Regions from separate parts of the Homo sapiens genome. Here all the other regions are linked to region 1. The links are contacts of gene promoters, found by promoter capture Hi-C in blood cells and fetal thymus (Javierre and others, 2016). All regions are on one chromosome and are shown on one strand. Each heading gives the region's core, a stretch centred on a gene start or on the middle of the fragment in contact. The rest is flanking DNA. Distances are from core to core; before and after follow the strand shown. Region 1 holds the start of CEP68 (centrosomal protein 68). Region 2 holds the start of WDPCP (WD repeat containing planar cell polarity effector). Region 3 has its middle 16 kb from the start of VPS54. Region 4 has its middle 5.5 kb from the start of UGP2. Region 5 overlaps VPS54 (VPS54 subunit of GARP complex).

The links. The method cuts DNA at HindIII sites, captures the fragments that hold promoters and counts their contacts. A CHiCAGO score of 5 or more calls a contact.
Region 2: the fragment with the promoter of WDPCP here is called in contact with the fragment with the promoter of CEP68 in region 1 in 5 of 17 cell types (total CD4 T cells, naive CD8 T cells, naive CD4 T cells and 2 more); the score reaches 11.7 in total CD4 T cells.
Region 3: a contact is called between a fragment that was not itself captured here and the fragment with the promoter of CEP68 in region 1, in 3 of 17 cell types (activated CD4 T cells, total CD4 T cells and naive CD8 T cells). The highest score is 6.7, in activated CD4 T cells.
Region 4: a contact is called between a fragment that was not itself captured here and the fragment with the promoter of CEP68 in region 1, in 1 of 17 cell types (activated CD4 T cells). The highest score is 6.4, in activated CD4 T cells.
Region 5: a contact is called between a fragment that was not itself captured here and the fragment with the promoter of CEP68 in region 1, in 2 of 17 cell types (activated CD4 T cells and naive B cells). The highest score is 5.6, in activated CD4 T cells.

The regions. Positions count from the first base shown.
Region 1 is chr2:65,054,634-65,058,711 of GRCh38, forward strand. CEP68 (centrosomal protein 68) reads left to right here and starts at 1,783. Exons shown (of 7, transcript NM_015147.3): 1 at 1,783-1,895. RefSeq lists an enhancer at 1,376-1,615 and silencers at 1,716-1,825, 1,906-2,245, 2,876-2,925, 2,936-3,015. The HindIII fragment of the contact is 3,790 bases long and covers 1-2,872 here.
Region 2 is chr2:63,587,000-63,590,860 of GRCh38, forward strand. WDPCP (WD repeat containing planar cell polarity effector) reads right to left here and starts at 1,478. Exons shown (of 18, transcript NM_015910.7): 1 at 1,198-1,478. The coding sequence starts at 1,272. MDH1 (malate dehydrogenase 1) reads left to right here and starts at 1,964. Exons shown (of 9, transcript NM_005917.4): 1 at 1,964-2,047. The coding sequence starts at 2,045. RefSeq lists enhancers at 643-1,163, 1,675-1,994. The HindIII fragment of the contact is 5,833 bases long and covers 657-3,861 here.
Region 3 is chr2:64,033,116-64,037,110 of GRCh38, forward strand. No RefSeq gene overlaps it. Among named protein-coding and RNA genes, the nearest start is that of VPS54, 16 kb to the left of the region's middle. RefSeq lists a silencer at 3,305-3,384. The HindIII fragment of the contact is 4,046 bases long and covers 1-3,527 here.
Region 4 is chr2:63,834,533-63,838,309 of GRCh38, forward strand. It overlaps a transcript of WDPCP not described here. Among named protein-coding and RNA genes, the nearest start is that of UGP2, 5.5 kb to the right of the region's middle. The HindIII fragment of the contact is 4,031 bases long and covers 424-3,777 here.
Region 5 is chr2:64,013,841-64,017,614 of GRCh38, forward strand. The region is part of intron 1 of VPS54 (VPS54 subunit of GARP complex); the gene reads right to left. Among named protein-coding and RNA genes, the nearest start is that of VPS54, 3.7 kb to the right of the region's middle. The HindIII fragment of the contact is 1,079 bases long and covers 1,140-2,218 here.

The DNA of each region.
Region 1 (4,078 bases), core at 533-3,032:
AGACTACAGCTGGTCAGGCCTGGGTTCCACACCTCCCCTTCTCCACACCCATCCTGCCTTGGGAGACCGGAGAAGTGCGGTGCTAAAGAACCATCTGACCCAGCGGACTGCAGACAATTCCCAAAGGAAAGTTTTCCCGTCAGGCAAAAACAAAAGCTGCTCACAACACAAAATTACAGAACATCAGAACCAAAAGGAACCTTGGGACTCCTTCATCCTATCCCCTCTCTTTATAGATGAGGAAACCATACAGGATATGTACGCCTGTTTGGACTTTGTACAGTTCTCTGTCCAGCAGGGGTGACTTGGCTGTGGGATTAGGTGACTCCACTGGAGGTCTTCTGTGTATAGAAAAGATCAAGGGTCACAAACACAAATGCCTTCAGGTAGGCAGCAAATGTGTGAAGGCTGGCTGTTACTTAATGGACCAGTGGTGGTGGTGGGATTCAAATTCTTATTAAAAAACAAAAGCAAACAAACAAAGAAAAGCTATGCGATGCCCAAATAAAACCATCTGTGGGCTAGCTGCTGCTGTTGTCCAAAGTTTGTGGCCCCTGGGTTAGACAAAACCTCTGAGCTGTCCTGACAGGTCTGGGAAAACCAAACAAGTCCTTGTCTCCTAAACTACCTGGGACTCAAGAGCTCTGTAGGAAAAAATTTGTACCCTGCACCCAGCTGGGGTTGACATTTACAGACGCCTGTTTTATGAACTGGGGAGATATTCAGTTGAAGCCAGATTGCTGAAAGTGCTGCTGAGAGAAAATCATCAGAAGGGAGGGCCTCTTCCCCACGCCACCCTGGTGGTAGTTCCTCTATGCCTCCGGATTCTGCTAAGCAGTAAAAGCTAAAGGGCAGTGTCATTAAGCTCCTAGGGGATGGGATGCAGTGGCTCACACCTGTAATTCCAGCACTTTGGGAGGCCGAGGCGGGAGGATCGTCTGAGTCCAGGAGTTCAAGCCCAGCCTGGGCAACACAGCAAGACCCCATCTTTGCAAAATAGATAGATAGATAGAGATGTATGAAAGTTACTAGGTCCCATGCTGGCAGGGGAGAGAGTGAGCACCCTGGCCTCCCACAAGCTGCCTCCCACTTCCCTCCGACTCCATCACCGATTTCCCATCAGAGCAGGCTGCTCAGAGTGGCTAAGTAGCTACCAGTTCATTTTCCACACCCTTCCCATTCTCCACGAGCCAGAGCTCCACCTCCCCCCAGAAGCTGTCTTCAACCACCCGGCCTGGGGAGCTCCCCTCAGCACTGGCTCCCCGCCCCGCCTCGCAGCACCTGTTCGGGCCTCGGTCGCGCCGCCGGGTCTTGCAGACGCGAATGTAAACAGAAACACAGTGAAAGGCGTTCGGAGAGCCTCGTGACTGCGGCACGGCGGCGAGCCGGGAACATCAGTGCGTCCAGAGCAAAATGAACGAATGTACGCATGACTCCTGGAGCGACCTTCACGAGGGAAAGCGCGCCCCCCGGCACCCACCCCTAAGCGCCCCAAAATGACCAGCCTTTACACAACCCAGCTCGCAGGCGAAGCTGAGGTCGGAGCTCCAAAAGCGAGGGAGGACAGCCGCTGAAGAAGTCCCGGCTTCCCATAGGCCAGGACGAAGTAGGGGGCGGGCTCATCTTGCAGGAGCGTCCACGTATTGGTGGAGCCGCGGACTTAGAGCTGCGATTCGCTGCGCGAAATTGCCGAAAGCCCTCCCGCGGAGGGAGAAGGGGCGGGAAGAAGGGCGTGGTCAGCGCGGCCGAAGGGCGTGGTTGGCGCTCGGTCCTGCCCTGCGCGTTTTGGGCTGCGGTTGGAGGGCCGCAGTTGCAGTCAGGGTCCGCCAGCTCGGGGCCAGCGCATGGGGCTGCTGAGACCGCTCCGGACGTGCGAAGCGTTCGCGGTGCGGTAGGTAGGCAGTGTCCCGCGTGCGGGTGCTGGTGTCGGGGGTGCCGCGGCGCTGGGGGCGGTGGCCCGGGCTAGATCCGCGCGCGCGCCCGGCCCCCTCCCCCGCGTCTCTTCGGTGCCTGCGGGGCCCTTGCGGTGCGGGCCGTCTGGCCTCGCGTCCCCGCCGGCAAGGGCACAAAGGCTCCCTGGGGGGCGGGGGCGCCTCGTGCCTTCGCCTCCATCTTGCGAGCGGAACGGCGTGTGCTGTGGCGGCCGAGGGGTCGGGGCCGAGGCGGGCGGCTGGGCTTGGGAATGCCCGGGCGCGGCGAGGGAGTGCGCGAGTCCGCGCATCTGGCGGCCGAGCAGCTGCGCCGCTGGTCGGCCTGGGCCCCGGGGGAGGTCACTTTCCCTCAGGCCTCTCCCGGGCGTGGGCTGTTTACCCAGCTCCCCAGTCGGGGCTAATGCAGCTCGGGCCTTTCCCCCTGGAAAGATGGAGACCAGTGATGTCTTCTTATCGCCGCGCCCAGATGCGGAGAGAAAAAATCAAGATGTCTCATTTTTTTTGCCTCGGAGGGCTACCCTTTCTAACTGTCATCACTAGAACAGTTCTCAGCAGCCTGGGGACGAATGTCCAAAACCTGTTCCAGGCCCTTGATGATTAGTAGGTTGGGTTTAGTGTATTGTTTGTAACAAAAATGAGCGGAAGCCTGCCAGGGCAGATTGGACCTCACTGGGAATTCATCAGGACCACGAAGGGAGGTAGCGTTTGTAAATAATCTAACAGTTCTCAGATCTAGGGTATGAAGAGTGTTGTGTTAAAGTGTGTAACAAAGGTTGTTGGGTCAGTTTGCCTTGGGTTTAGTTGAAAGATCTAGAAGTCACCACTTTTTACTTTGTTCCCTCCATTCCCCTTTCCCACCCTCTGTTGAGTCAATTCTGGCCCACTTAGAAAACAACAACAACAAAAAACCCAAGGAATTCAGTTTAACCTCTTTTGCGCAAAGCTTTTTAAAGCACTTCCCCACCCTGCGACTGATAACTCCTCCCTTTTTTGGGCTACCTTCTGCAGCCTCTGTTTTTACTCATCACACTGTATTGTGGTTTCCCCAGCCCCTAGCACAATGCTTGGAACATAAAAGGCACTCAATGATGGAAGGAAGCCAAAAGGAAACAAAATCAGCGTGGTAGTCTAAAGGTGACACAACAGAAACATTTATTTAACTTCTTGAGCGAGTTATTCTTACAGGTTAGGAAGGCAGCTAAGCTCAGGCTCTCTAAGTCAAACAGGCTTTAGCTCTGCCATGTTACTAACTCTGATTAATTTTTTTTTTAATGGTGATGGGGGTCTTGCCATGTTGTCCAGGCTGGTCTTGAACTCCTGGGCTCAAGCAATCCTCCTGCCTCTGCCTCCCAGAGTGCTGGGATTACAGGCGTGTCATTAAGTTATTTAACTTCTCCGTGCCTTGGTTTCCTCATCCTTAAAAATGGGAATAATAGTAGTACCTGTGTGGTGAGTTATTAGGATTAAATAAGATATTGATGTATAGTGCCTAATATAGTTCCTGGCACAAAGAAAATGATCAGTAGCTGTTAGCTGTTAGCAGTCGTTAGGAGAAAAATAAATGGATACTTGAATACACTCACCAATATGAAATATCTGTATAGTACTTGACCCTTCAGGATCTCTCTGTTTTTTGGTCCTTATCCGATCCCTTTTTTTGAGACAGGGTCTCACTCCATCACCCAGGCTGGAGTACAGTGGCATGATCTCAACTCACTGTGGCCTCAACCTCCTGGGGTCGAGTCCCTCTCACCTCAGCCTCCCAAGTAGCTGGGATCACAGGTGCACATCACCAGGCCCAGCTAATTTTCTATTTTGTTGTAGAGATGACGTCTCTCTATATTGCCCAGGCTTGTCTTGAACTCCTGGGCTCAAGCGATTACTGGCATGAGCCACGGTGCCTGACACCTTATCCGATGGCTGATTTTTTTCCTTTTTTTTTTTTTTTTTTTTTTTTTTGAGAGGGAGTTTCACTCTTCTTGGCCAGGCTGGAGTGCAATGGCACAGTCTCAGCTCACTGCAACCTCTTCCTCCCGGGTTCAAGCAATTCTCCTACCTCAGCCTTCCGAGTAGCTAGGATTACAGGCACCCACCACCGTGTTCCGCTAATTTTTGTATTTTTGGTAGAGACAGGGTTTCGCCATGTT
Region 2 (3,861 bases), core at 228-2,727, 1.5 Mb before region 1:
AAAATCATGATATTTTTAAGGACAACAACATGGAAAAATCTTTCTGTTAGCAGCTAGTAGAAGAATTCATTTAGGAGGATAATGGAAGAAATTTTTCGTAACTGCTCAGAGTAAAAAGTAAAACTCAGAGAACCTAGGTTTGAGAATAATGCACACCTACTAATTCAGGACTAGACACATAAATTTGAGAGTTTTTGACATTAAAAGTAGCATTTGAAGTGATGCAACTTATGAATTAGCTCACTGAGGGATTTAGTATAGACAGAGAATACAGGCACCCCAATGTTAAGAGATCACAACTAAAAAAAATTTAGAAACTCCGCAGAACTGAGAACCAGTAACAAAAGAGGAAAACCAGGAAAGTATGTTGTCTGAGAGCCAAATGAATAAAGAGATACAAGGAGAGTCATTCAGGTATGATATTAATAAATGCTAAAAGTAAAGCATTACATTTCTTTCCAAAAATAGCAAATCCTCCAAACTGAAATAGAGAAAAATTGAAAGATATTACTTGGCATTCATTTATCAGTGACAGAGAAAAAACGGAAGTTCTAACAATGTTATCTAATAGAGATGTTTTATTCATTTTCATTACGTATATGCTGTGTATGCTACTCCCGAGCATCATATCTTCCTTTTAACATCCACAAGAAACAAGCTTTCAAAAAGCACAGCAATTCTCTTGGCAGCATTAATTTTAAAGAGAACCTCTTAAGTTGTTTTACCAGCTGAGACTGACTGACTAAACAACCAGTGTCTCCCCTTCAGTCGCCAGTCTTTCCTTAGAAATGCCTGTTTGGCATAACTTTAAGACTCAAGATGGTTTAAGGCGCATCCTGTTTCTTCCAAAAGGGAATGGACAAAACTCAACATTCACGGAGGGCTTAGAGCAAATTAGAACCGTATACTGTGACCTCCTGGAAGGGAGAGGCTCACCTCCTACAAAGTAAATGCTCAATAAATATTTTTGATATAACTCTGGAAGAGCTCCATTTGGGGTCGGGGGTGCACCTACTCCAGGGCACCACCCCCTCCAAAATAGCTGCATTCCCACAGCCCTCATACTCCGCTCAGAAAAGGGACCGGCGAGCTTGCAGGCATCCGCACAGCGGATAAAAGCAAAGCGGGACGGCGCACCAACCGCATTCCGGATCCTAAGGTTAAAAGAAAACCCCTTGCCCTCGGGCCAGGGCTCACCTGTCTCGGGAGTGGGGAAGAAGCGCGACTCCCGGCCGCTTTGGAGTAGGCGTCCCAGCAAAACTCTCGCCTCATCACCAGACACTACCCCGGGCAGAAGGTTCCTAGGCTAGGTCCTCGGACCCGAGAGGGAGCGACACGCTCGCTTGGTCTCTTGGGTCTCCAGGACGCCGCCGCCGCCGCCACAGTTTCCTCAGGTGCTACAAAGCAGCCAGGGTGTGCGTGCGCTCCCGCCTCGTCGCTTAGCAACCTGAGAAGCTGTCCGGTCGTCCCAACTTATCAATTCCCCCGCCCCTCCAGAGTGTCAATCGTTTTTTAAAAGATTTTGTTTCCGGGTCGATCCAGCTTTACGCAGCGGAAGGTCTCTTTACCTCCCACGTTTACCCTCATGGGAGGATGCAGTCTCAGTCACGCGCGTGGGGGTGATGTCGCTAAGGGGTGATTCTCCCCTCCCTAGAGTTACACACGCTATCTCTCCCGCCAATTGCCGGGCTCCATCAGGCAGGTCCTTTCCTCCTGAGCCCAAACCATCCGTTTGTTGTCGTCCTCCAATCACAGGGGCTCATCCTCAGGGACTACTTTGCAATCGGCGCAGAGCGCAGTGAGAAGAGCTTGAAAAAAACCTCTGGTATCGGGAAGTGTAGTTCAACACTTGAAGGAAATGCTTTGGAGATTGCGCCACAACCAGGGCAGCGTAAACTACAGTTCCCAGAGAGCGCCGCGTCGGGAGCGGAGCCTTTTCTCGCTAACACCGCTCGCCCTCTCCGAGTCAGTTCCGCGGTAGAGGTGACCTGACTCTCTGAGGCTCATTTTGCAGTTGTTGAAATTGTCCCCGCAGTTTTCAATCATGGTGAGTGTGGGCCCCGGGTTCCTGCCCACCTCTGGCCCTCGCGCCCTTGAGTGGGGTTTCTTGCACTTTAGGGACTTTTGGGAGGCAGCTGTGCAAGGCACTGTCCTTCGCGCCCTTTGGCAAGCTCGGACTCATCTTCTGGGGATTGCCGCAGTGACCCAGTAATGGGAAGGGATTGATTTCCACCTTGCGGGGTATGGGGCGCTCTTAGGAGGACTCTGGAGAAGTAGTTGTCCTGGGAGAGGAGCGATCTTAATCCTGCTGCATGACGGGAGGACAAAATGCGACGCTGCAGCTATTTTCCAAAGGACGTTACGGTGTTTGATAAGGACGATAAGGTTTGCGATGGGAGGGAAAGGTTGGGTCCTAACCCCTTTTTCTCCTCATTTGCCCACAGTGTTTATAACGGCTTTTGTCACAGGGACCTTGAAAGCAAAAAGCTGGAAAGGTAGTATTTACCAGGTGCTCCAGATTACGATCTGCGTTTGCAGCAGACGTGTTTCCGCCATATCTAATTTCTCAAAATGTTATTTGGAACCCGTTCATTGACCTTTTTTGTAATGCCAGGATATATTGAAGTGACAGCATCACTAACTAAATAACTACTGCAAATATTCTTTATTGAACTGTATATTGTGAATTCCAGAAGCACCTCTCTTAAATGTAACAGAGTAACCATTTTGTCATGGAAGACCTGGGTAACCTGCATCTCCATCGCTTGTCTCTGCTGAAAGAGAGGGGGAGGGGGAGAGTTGGTGAAGGAACTCTGGCGTAGGAATAATCTGCGTACTGCTTGAAGGTGACATTTGTCATCAAACTCAGAGAAATCGCTTCATACTATCAATACAATGGCTTGTATTTATAGTTGCGACTGTTTTTCCTACTTTATCTGCAAAATACTAAAACGGCTGGAGAATGTGGAGAAATGTTTGAATGAATTGGAAATTTCCCAGAACCTGAAAAGACACGTTTTCAAGGCAAGGGCATTACTCTCTCTGCCTGTCTAACGGGGCCAGTGGAGACAGCTACTAATTTCCAGTAGGTGTTAAACCTAGGTTTCCTAAATGTTTTGTCACATAATTAGTCATTTAAATTATGGTTTCGGTAGTTTCTGTCCTAATAACCTTAGCTAGAAAGCAGAGGTACTTATTATCTGATAACCTTGGACTTTTTGCTTTTAGAACTGAATGGGATCTTTTAAAGGTCATCTTGACGAATCTCCCCACTTCAGATCTTAAAATGGAGTTTATCGAGACCCAAAGAGAATGTGATTTGCTCCAAGAGTCTCACACTCTTGCCATTTTTCTATATTGTGTCTTACACTTACCAAGTCTTTCTGAATTTTTATTTTTATAGGGACCACCGCAGTGAGGTCTCGCAGCGGGGGAGAGACAGTGTACTCAACTCCCTGAAAACTTATTTTTACTAGCTGAGATTCCGGATGAAGTTACCAGTTCATACTGCATATACAAACTCAAATATGTTATCAGCATGTAGATTACTTGATAGCTTTATTCCTTGCCATTCAAAATACTGGAATTGTAGAATTAAAAGGGAATTTGGAGATTATATTATCTACTCTTATAATGTAGTCTGGTGAGGTCAGATAATTTTCCCAAGGTCACAGAGATTTTGGGCCCCAGATTCTTAGCTAGTTTCCCTAGCAAGGCCCCACCGTTGGAAGGTCACTGGGGTGCCAGATAACACAGAGACAGAACATGAGGAAGAATTTGTCTGGCAGTTTGCTGGAACTGACAGCAAACTCACACATGACTCAATTTCCCTGCCCCCTCAGGAGGGTGTGTGAATGGACA
Region 3 (3,995 bases), core at 255-2,754, 1.0 Mb before region 1:
GATTTGGCTCTTCCACTGCTATCATGATTGCAAATGGACTCTTTTCTTCTTCTCTTTGGTCACCTGAGAAATAAGGTACTCTCTCCTACTCCATCTCTATTTTTCTGACTTCGAAATAAGACAAAAACAATTAACCAGACAGATGAAAGTGAATAACAATAACAACAAAAATTTATTTAGAGTTTTAAATGTTTGTTTCTGCTAGAAACTGCATGTTAACATAAAGGCTAATAAAAATAATCAGACCTTAGAAAGTAAGTTCTATTTCTATCCCTCTTCAAAGGATCCTTTGAGATGCCTCAGGGAGTACCTCCTCTGGTCAGTTTTCTTTACCACCCCCACCCCTGATCTGAGTTATTGAACACCTCTGCCCCTGTGCTCACTCATACTATATTGTAGTTTTCTGTTTACTTATCTGCCTTACGCATTGGCTCATGTGTTCCTTGAAGGAAGGGTTTCTACCTTTATCTCTGTATTAGCACTACAAAGCTCAGTGTCTGGGACATATACAGTGAAGGGTCAGTAAATATTTTCAGAATGAGTGAGTGTTTCATATCCCAGTTATACTTAAACCTGATAGCAGCCCTGTGAGATAGAGGTGATCAACCTGAGGCTTAGAGAGGTAAGGTAGGTGACTTGCTTAAGGTCATAAATAGTAAGTAGAATCAGGATTGGAGCTCAAATCTATCTGATAAAAAGTCTGAGCCCTTGACCAGGGCTTTGGTCAAAACTGTTCATTTATTTGGAATAAGGTTCAAAATGTAGCTGGGAGTAGTTTTCCCTGATTGAATCCTACCTGCCTTTCTAACCCTTTTTGTCATTTTTCTCCTTCACGCATCTTTCCTCACAGCCCCTGAACAGACTTGGGCTTTCCTGCCTCTTTGTTTTCACTGGACTCTGTCAACTCTGCTTACTAAACTCTTACACCTTCTTCAAGGATCAGCTCAGACATCATCTCTTTTACAAAATTTTCCTTTATCACATACCCAGAAGTGACATCATCCTCCTTTGAATTGTCATATTATTTCCTGAACCATGAACATGGCATGTGTGACATACTAGCTCTGCTCAAACTATTAGTCTCCATATTAAACTACTAGATCATGCCTTGTCCTCTTTATGGCCCTTAGTATAGTGATTTGCACATAGTAGACTTTTTACAAATTTGCTGAATAAATTAATGGTGGTAGTGGTGACTTTTTGGTATGCCAACCATTTCCCCCACTGTCTAGGGCTTAGGACTGTGCAAATCATTGTTAGATCTGCCCTATTTCTTCATACCTTATAGGCTGTGATATGGTTTGGCTGTGTCCCCACCCAAGTCTCATCTTGAATTGTAGTTCCCATAATCCCCACATGTTGTGGGAGGGACCCAGTAGGAGGTAATTGAATCGTGGGGACATTTTCCCCCATGCTATTCTGATGATAGTAAGTTCTCATGAGATCTGATGATTTTATAAGAGGCTTCCCCCTTCACTTGGCTCTCATTCTTCTCTTTCCTGCTGCCATGTGAAGAAGGACGTGTTTGCTTCCCCCTTCACCATGATTGTAAGTTTTCTGAGGCCTCCCCAGCCCTGTGGAACTGTGAGTCACTTAAACCTCTTTCCTTTATAAATTACCCAGTCTCCGGCATTTCTTCATAGCAGCATGAGAACAAACTAATATAGGCTGTATTCTCTCTTGATAACCAAAGGAGTTTTATATATTCAGAACTACCAAATATCAGCTTGGCAAATTTAAGTATAAATGGGCTTTTGATAGCTGTTAACAATGGGTTTTCACAAGTAGTTGGGAGACATGGCTTTGTGAATAAGTTTTGTTTCGTTTTCATTAAGAAGGAATAGTGACTGGGACAAGAAAAAGAAGGGAATATATTCCAGGTGTTTCTAGGGGTGAGGTAATTTGGCCTGCTAACAGTAAAACCCCAAGTTAATCAGAACCCGATTAACTTGCATTAATTGGCACCTCAATTATACACACACACACACACACACACACACACACACACATACATAAAGCAGACAGAAAAAGGGAGAGAGAGAGAGAAGAGACAGAGAGAAGAGAGAAGGGGAAAGGATCTGCCCTTAATAGAGACAAATGACAACAACAAATGAAACAGCAGCAAAATAATATCAAAACAGCATCTAGCCGCATAGGTTCTGCTCTCAATAACAGCATCATTTTCAGAAACGAAGCAACTCAAAATCCTGAATCATGTGACAAGATTGAAAGATAAAAGGGCTTAACCAGAAAATTCATGTAACCAGCACATGTCATTTCCCACAAATTATGCTTAAGCAGTGTTGTATATCATATCACTATAGTCTTATAAGATTATAGTTATACATCATCACTATATCATATATCATATCACTATATAGTTATATATCACATCACTATAATCTTATAAGATTATGGTGAGCCACCTAGAAGTTGTGGGTAGGTATGACTATATAATATTCTTCAAGAAAACAACTTTGGAAAGTTATTTAAGGCTTGAATTATATTATAGCAATGAAACTAACTGGAAATATAAGGGTATTTTTAAACAGACTTGAATCTTCAATATGCAGCTGGAGCAGCAGATCCTGGTATGACTTGTTTTCTGCTAACTTGCAGGCTTCTTCAATGATCAGGTTTCAAGTTTCACTGCGGCAACTGACTCAAAGTGATTATTTAGCCTGCAAAATAGAAAAGAGTATAAAGGGACATGGTTGAAGTACTGAAAATTGCAATTACAGAGGGCACGTGAAAATTGATCTGTTCCTCCTTTTTATCTGGTTGAATACAGGAACAAGAGAATTTAAAATACATTTTAGTTTTAATGAGAATACCAGAGATGTATGATTTTATGTGGCATTTTAAGAGGATATTATTCACAATGGCAAAGGAATCATGGGGAAAAAAAGTGACAGAAGGTATATATTTTTTACTGAATAATCACACATTTTAACGTTTAGCGATAGAGTCAACAAAATCATGTTTCAGGTGGTTAGACCCCAAGAACTTTTGGGCTAACACTGAAGATTCTGCTGGAAGAACACAATGGCTAGTACAATAAGTAAGGTTGGGAGCAAATTAACATGGTGGGCAAAGTGGTCCGTGTGTCACATAGTGTCCACATAATGATGATGATGATAAGGATAATAGCTAGTGTGTTTACAGCTACTTCCCCATTATTTGTAAGAAAAATTATATGAGTTTCATTTTGTTTTGTTTTCTTTTTTGCTTGAATTGCCTTCCCTGGGCTCCTTCCCAGCTCCCACATGCCCAATTCTGCATATTCAAATTTGACCTCTTCTTCAAATACCCTTTTAAAAATGCAGTGTAGTGCAAACAGCAATCTCTGACCTCACTACTAAGAAAGAGTAATCTTCTACTCTGAATCCCTCCTCCATACCTCTCATGCAGCACTAGTCATTTCCTGCCTAGTAATGTGGCTATGTGACTTATTATGTGGTTAGTTTCCCTTACTAGATCTTTGCATACGATTCATTATTTATCTCTGTATTCTCTGCATTGTCATAAGCTTTTATATAATAAGCAACGAACAAATATTTATAAATAATTATAAATATGTGTTTAATTAATGGAATAGTAGGAATGGAGTTGTATTAATTTCACTTTGTCACATCAGGCTCTCTTTGACCAATGTCTCATCTTTTCCAAGGATAAAGATGTAGTTCTTATGACTTCATGGACTCAGCATTGCCAGTGTTCAGACAGTGTACAATAGATATGTGCCAGAATCTTTATGTGTGAGTTAATTTTATACATTTTATAAATTTCATATATATATATATATATTTTTGTTTGTTTGTTTGTTTGTTTTGAGATGAAGTCTCGCTCTGTTGCCCAGCCTGGAGTGCAGTGGCGTGATCTCGGCTCACCATAACCTCCGCCTCCCAGGTTCAAGTGATTCTCCTGCCTCAGCCTCCTGAGTAGCTGGGACTGCAGGTGCATGCCACCACACCCAGCTAATTTTTGTATTTTTA
Region 4 (3,777 bases), core at 1,189-3,688, 1.2 Mb before region 1:
TGATTCTTTCAGGCCTGGGGCACGCAAGTTGGGAGCCCCTGGCCTGGTTGCAGTCCAGCTGCTAGCAGCATTTACCAGAGCTTCCTGGAAGGTGGCCAAGAGGAGCAGCATCTCTACAGGTAGAGTGGATGATAAAAAAACATCTAATAATTCCACAGGCCTCTTATCCAAGGTGAAGAGTGGTATGTTCAGTAGCTGGTTCCTGAAGTAGATGTCCAGATAATGGAACACCTACCTCCTTGGCTGTGCTCAGCACATTGCAGCCAACATGGAGCTCCTGGATGGTGCAGCTCTGGTGGCTCTGAAACTCTGATTTCGTAGACATCGGATATTTTTCGTTAGCAGCTGAAGTGCCCTTTTTGTGGCATCCAAAGTAGTTTTGGTCTGACTGATCCAACAATGCATGCATGTTTTATAAATTAAAGCTTCATCATTATTTTAAAGTACTTTCTAGAAAAAAGTACTGCTATTCATTATTGGCATTTTGGTACTATCTGGATTTTTTTTTTAAGCTGTGTATTCTTACTGAAATTTAAAAAAAAAATTGAAGTGCAATTTAAAATGGCACCAGAAGCCAGGCGTCATGGCTCAAACTTGTAATCCCAGCACTTTGGGAGGCCGAGGTGGGCGGATCACTTGAGGTCAGGAGTTTGAGACCAGCCTGGCCAACATGGTGAAACCCTGTCTCTACCAAAAAAAATACAAAAATTAGCCAGGTGAGGTGGCAGGCCCCTGTAATCCCAGCTACTTGGGAGACTGAGGCAGGAGAATTGCTTGAACCTGGGAGGCAGAGGTTGCAGTGAGCAGAGACTGCACCACTTCACTCCAGCCTGGGTGACAGAGCGAGACTCCATCTCAAAAAAAAAAAAAAAAAAAAAAAGAAGAAAACAGTATTACTAGAGAACTTCAGTCATTAAGAGATTACTTGTCCCGGATAAAGGCCTGACCATTTGCACTCCTTTCTGTTTTGATGGAGAGGGGTAGCAAATCAACCTCCAGAAACCGAAGGGAGAAAATTTTCCTCCCTGTGGGTTTTTGGAGTCAGATAGCTTCAGTTCAGATCCTGGTTCTGTCACATAGTAGCTATGTGATCTAAAAAAAAAAATTAAATAAAAAAAATAATAAAATGGCACCAGAACTTAACATTAGTATTTCATATTTTTTCCTGTAGTTTTTTCTCTAAATATGACATACCTCCTCTTTTTCATTAGAGAGAAAAAGTAGTTACCTTTTATTCTCTAATCATATTATCCATCTAATGACATAGAATTATTCAATTATTTAATCTTCACCCAAAAAGCAGTCCTGAGAATCTTCTCTTTATTTTATTTTTATTTTTTGAGACAAAGTCTTGTTCTGTAGCCCAGGCTGGAGTGCAGTGGCGTGACCTCAGCTCACTGCAAACTCCGCCTCCCATGTTCAAGTGAGTTTTGTGCCTTAGCCTCCCAAGTAGCTAGGATTACAGGCGCCTGCCACCAAGCCCAGCTAATTTTTGTATTTTAGTAGAGAAGGGGGTTTAATCACGTTGGCCAGGCTGCTCTCAAACTCCTGACCTCAGATGATCCACCAGCTTTGGCCTCCCAAAGTGCTGGAATTACAGCTGTGAGCCATTGCACCCAGCTGAGAATCTTCTCTTTAATATTTCGTTAGGTTGGTGGGTGTGAAATGCTTAAAATACATTCCCTGAGACTAAGTTAGGAAACAGAAGTTCTTTATCCTTTCCTTTCCAGTGGTGGCACTAGCAGGAAATTTAATAAACTAGACCAGAGGCAGAGATGTTTAGAAAACCATCAAAAGTCATTTGATGGAATGCACAACAGGGAATCTTTCATATAGTTGAAAGAGGCAGAAAAAATAGAATTAAACTGAATGCTTTTCTCTTTCACAACTCTTCTCTGTGAGGATTTGAAAGTCAATAAGTAACCTGAACTTCTATACATATATCACTACAGTAAATCAAAATAATATTTATTCTATGAGTTTGGTAAAAGATGGTTTCTTATTAGTTTTTTTATCTTTTCAAATTATAATCACATAACAATCTACGCTTGTTAAAAACCCTGAGAGAATATAGGGAGTTTATTTATGTTTTTTCCTGGGCCATTCACTAAAGGGAATGGCTCTATTGCCTCTATCATCAAAGGGGCGGACACAATTTGGAGATACAGTTTTGCACATGAGAGAAATACAACAACCTCATGGGTGTCACCATTTCTCACCAACACTCTCCTCTGGGGAACATGCAGAACAGACTAAACAGAAAACAAAATAGTAAGGACCTGCTTCCTTCAACTTTCAAAGGAGAATCTAGAGGGGAATTATTGATAAACATGAACAAGATAATGTATGTTTTGATTAAACATGCTTGGGAGCCTAATGACTTTTAAAACCACTTAGAAGATTGGTTTATGAACCTTTAATTAACTATCCATAATGTGAACTAACTTCATTTTTTAAAGCATCTCAGTTATTTGAAATAATTGCTACTGCTCTGATGTAAAAGTTATATAACTCTCAAATATAACTTAAAAATCATACTGTGAACAAATGGAAGGATATGTCATAATTTAAATTCACAACTTGTTTCAGCAAACTTCCTGGTTCATTAACAGGGTGTTGGCAACAGGAAAGAATGAAGTCTTTCTCTTCCTCAAGTATTTGGAAACCCATTCATTTTTAGACAACTCATTCATTAGTAGTCCATCTCATAGATATAATTTGATATCTTTTTCCAGTTAAGCCCGTTTGGTTACCTTTTTACTCAAGTGAAATGCCCTATTGTTAGATGTAGTCAGTTACTGGCAACTGCTGACTGAGTAACAGTAGCCCCTTTTTCCTCTCTCATGTGGGTGGCCTAGGATTTAGATGGGTACAGATGGGAGCCAATATTGAGTATGGGCAACAGTCCAGTGGATAACTGTTGCCTGGTCTCTTGGCTAAACACTTTGGGCATGACACAGAAATTTTTATGTCTAGTACATGTTCGCTCAAACTACACTGCTTTATTTTCTTGAATGTAGAGGATAGGCAAGAAAAAATAAAGGACCACACACATTGATGATCTGTATACTTATTTCATACCTTTAACAATTCCTACACCACTCCTTATTAGATAATGCTCATGGGTAGTTAACACAGCTTATTGTAAAGTCATCAGGGCATTTGCTGCTATTATTCTTATAATTTGGCCCAGGTTCATCTCCTAGGTGGAAATAACTGAAACTTAAAAAACGTTATCTCTAAATATAAACTTTTTATGTTTTATATGGCTCTCAAAGAGCAGAGAGTAGGGGCGGGCCTGTGGCTTACGCCTGTAATTCCAGCACTTGAGGAGTCTGAGGCAGGAGGATTACCTGAGGTCAGGAGTTTGAGACAAGCCTGGCCAACACGCCGAAACCCTGTCTCTACTAAAAATACAAAAACTAGCCAGGTGGGGACCTGTAATCCTGGCTACTCAGGAGGCTGAGGCAGGAGAATCCAGCTACTCAGGAGGTGGAGGTTGCATTGAGCCGAGATCGCACCACTGCACTCCAGCCTGGGTGACAGAGCGAAACTCTATCTCAAAGAAAAAAAAAAAGAGTGGAGAGTAGGATACAACACTGTGAGTTAAAATGATTTAGTGGCACTAAACTGGTCATTCAATATATACTTATGGAATGTTCGCTATGTACCAGACACTGTGCCAAGCATTAAATCTAAAAAGGCACCAAAAAAGATGCTTAGAAATAGGACCACAGACATGGTTTCCTTGCTGTTGATAGAGAGCTCCTGTCTAAA
Region 5 (3,774 bases), core at 429-2,928, 1.0 Mb before region 1:
GACCACCTCTACCCTTATTTTTATATGATTCTGAAAGAAAGGTGACCAGTTAACAAAATTTTAAGAAACCAGCCAGGCGCGGTGGCTCACACCTGTAATCCCAACACTTTGGAAGGCCGAGGCAGGTAGATCACAAGGTCAGGAGTTCGAGACCAGTCTGACCAACATGGCGAAACCCTGTCTCCACTTAAAATACAAAAATTTGCTGGGCGTAGTGACACGCCAGAAAGATGAAAAATAATTTTAAAAGAAATCTAGAAGGAAATGAGATTTTACAAATGGTGAGCAGGCTTACAACCCCTATTTCTTCAGTTAAATTCTCACATCTGAAGAATAATTACCTTCAGATAATAGAAAAACCCTTCAAATACACAGGAAGGCAGGCATAGTAAATGAAGACAAAAGGATTATTCCCCAAAAGGGAATTAATCCAAATAACGACAGCATACTCTTAAAAACACTAAAACTTTTTGAATAAGTCACTTCCAAAAATTTTAACTCTGAAGTAAAATATATATATTTTCAAGTCTTCTCAAATAGCATATTTGAAAACAAGGTAATCTTTTCTTAATAAGTTAATTTCACCATTATAATAATCAGTTATTTTACTGTGCTATAACGGTGATACTCTCAGGTGCTACAGAAGGAAGTCAGTTTGCCCCTATATTAAGGAGTTTCAGATTATAGTGATATACTAGTTATTTTACTAGTTTGTTATCAATATTTGTATTTAGTGCTTCTCTCCTCCCTAGAGAGGCTGTCAGCCATCACTATTCTCCGCCTTACTATCTACATTCCTGCCTTTGACAACCTCTATATTCCTTCCTAATTTGATTCTTCTGAAGCGAATAACTCTTCTACAGTATATTATAGTTGACACTGCATCTTAATACATATTACCTCATTTAATAATTCTTACAATAGCCTTGTAATACATGGATTATCACTACCCCTATTTTATAGATGAGAAAACTGAGGCTCAGAAAGAATAACTTGAGTAACTTATCCATAAGGTATGGATGATAAATAGCAAAAGTGATCTCAACTGTCAATTACCTTCTTTCATCAACAAATTAAGCTTGTTAAAAACATTAAATAGTCTAAAGTGGAGCTCATAGGGGAAAAAAAGATTCATTATAAGCTTGGAATTTTTCTGGACATTCACAACATACATACATACATACATAACATAAGTGTTATACATACATATATAACATAAGTGTTATCCATAAAGTTAAACACTTAGCTTACTTCTCCTTTCTTGGTAGTTGAAGCTGCCAGGAAAAAAAAAAATCACTTCTGGATAAAAAAGATATGACTATATTCTATTTACAATTTCAAAAACATATGCAAAAATAACAATTCAAAACAATAGTAGTCCAAATTTGCAGTAAATTAAGTCTGTTTTTAGAAAAAAAGGGGTTCTTTTTTCAGATTTGAAGACAACCTAAACATACGAAACAGTATCTGCGTCATGTCGTAAACAGATTTCCTTTTATTTTTCCCTCAATTCCTCCTCTTGCAAAGAAATAGAGTTAGTTGCTAGAGGATCTAAGGTGTTAATCTAATTCACCAAACATCGCCCACTGAGACTATTCTCCCACCTGGTAGGAATCAAAAACACTAGGTCCTTACCAGAAATCGTGCAGCCCCTAGGTTTACAATGGTACCATTGACATTTTGAACCGGATAATTTCTTGCAGAAGTATGTCCTGTGCATTGTAGGGTATTTAGCAACATCCTTGGCCAATACCATTTCCTTCAGCTATGACAACCAAAAATGTCTCTAGACACTGCCAAATTTCCCTTGGAGTCAAAACCGTCCTCGCAGAGCCATTGTTTTAGATGTTAGGGCACTGGATATTTGAAAAAGGAAACCTCCAACTGGCCCTGTTAATTATATTTTTTTAAAATTTGGATTTAAAAAAATAAGACATTAATAGTATAAGAAGATATCTAAATAATACATTTGCTACCCTTCCTTAGGTTAAAGCATTTTTAGAGGATTTTGTAACATGGGTTTCATCAATGTAGCTACATATAGTCACCCACTTTTCCCCCAAAGTTGGGGGAATGTCCAGTTCTTTCTCAGCTCTGCTAGCAAAATGTCAAATACATACATATATACAAGAATCTAAACAATTCTAACTTCCAAAGTCCCATTTCTTGCTTTACATGGCCACGCTGTGGTTCTTGAGCCACACATCCTAGAGATTCAAGCTTCTAATCTCCATGTTTCCTCATCTGGTTGCTGCCAACTAATAGCGAGGTAAGCAGGAAGTAAGCTGATGACCTTTAAGATCTTTTCCCTGATATTCTAATATTCAATGACAAAAATGCCCACTTTTACTTATTGATTCCGAGCTGACCAAACTACCTCTTGAGGTTACTGAAGCCATTCATGCCTTCTCCAACTTTATGCTGAATACAACCAAAAAGTGTATCAGTTATTTACAACATCACTTTTAATATTGGTGATCAGTTGCTTATTCCCTAGCTCAAATAAAAAATTTTAACATGTACACTGATTTTAAAGGAAAAGCTTTTCAAGAAGCTATGAGCCAAGAAGCATTATATGAAAGGCCCACATTAGGCCAATATTGAGACAGAAAGTAGACTAGTGGTTGCCTAAAGCTGGGGGTGGGGTGAAGAGAATGGGGAGTAACTGTTAATGGATAAAGGTTTTTTGAGGGAATGATGAAAATGTTCTAAAATTAGATTATGGTGATGGTTGCACAATTATTTAATCTAAAAACCACTGAATTGTATATTTTTTTTTTTTTTTTGAGATGGAGTCTCGTTCTGTCACCCAGCCTGTAGTGCAGTGGTGCTATCTTGGCTCACTGCAACCTCCACCTCCCAGGTTCAAGCGATTCGCCAGCCTCAGCCTCCCCAGTAGCTGGGATGACAGGCGCTCACCCCCATGCCCGGCTAATTTATATATTTTTAGTACAGACGGGGTTTCACCATGTTGGCTAGGCTGGTCTCGAACTCTGGACCTCAGGTGATCTACCTGACTAGGCTTCCCAAAGTGGTGGGATTACAGGTGTGAGCCACTGAACCCGGCCAAGTGGTACACCTTAAATGGGTGTATTTTATGGTATGTTAATTTTATCTCAATAAAGCAGTTTTTAAAAAGCAAAGAGCAGGAAAGAGGAATTGTAATTAACTTTTGTTGATTAAAAAAAAAAAAAAAAAAAAAAAGAGTGTGATGGGCCGGGGCCGGGGCGGTGGCTCACACCTCTAATCCCAGCACTCTGGGAGGCCGAGGCCGGTGGATCACAAGGTCAGGAGTTCAAGACCAGCCTGGCTAATATGGTGAAACCCCCGTCTCTACTAAAAATACAAAAATCAGCCAGGCGTGGGGGCGCCTGTAGTCCCAGCTACTCAGGAGACTGAGGCAGAAGAATCACTTGAAGCCGGTAGGCGGAGGTTGCGGTGAGCCAAGATAGCGCCACTGCACTCCAGCCTGGGCAACAGAGCAAGACCCCGTCTCAAAAAAAAAAAAAGAAAAGAAACAAAAAAAAAGAGTGTGATGAAGAAATTCTGCAAAATTTGCCGTTTCATGGGCTATATAGGAATTGACTTTAATTCTGACACAAAAAATTATCTTATCCAGAAATCAATTTTAACTTTCCAGAAAATATAAGCATATGCAAAAGTAATCACCTTTTCCTAGTAAACTTTTAGTATTAAATTCTAATTTCAAAAACACTTCAGAAAGCCAAATGCTGTAGTAACAATACTTCTACAAGAACAAAATATACGAATATC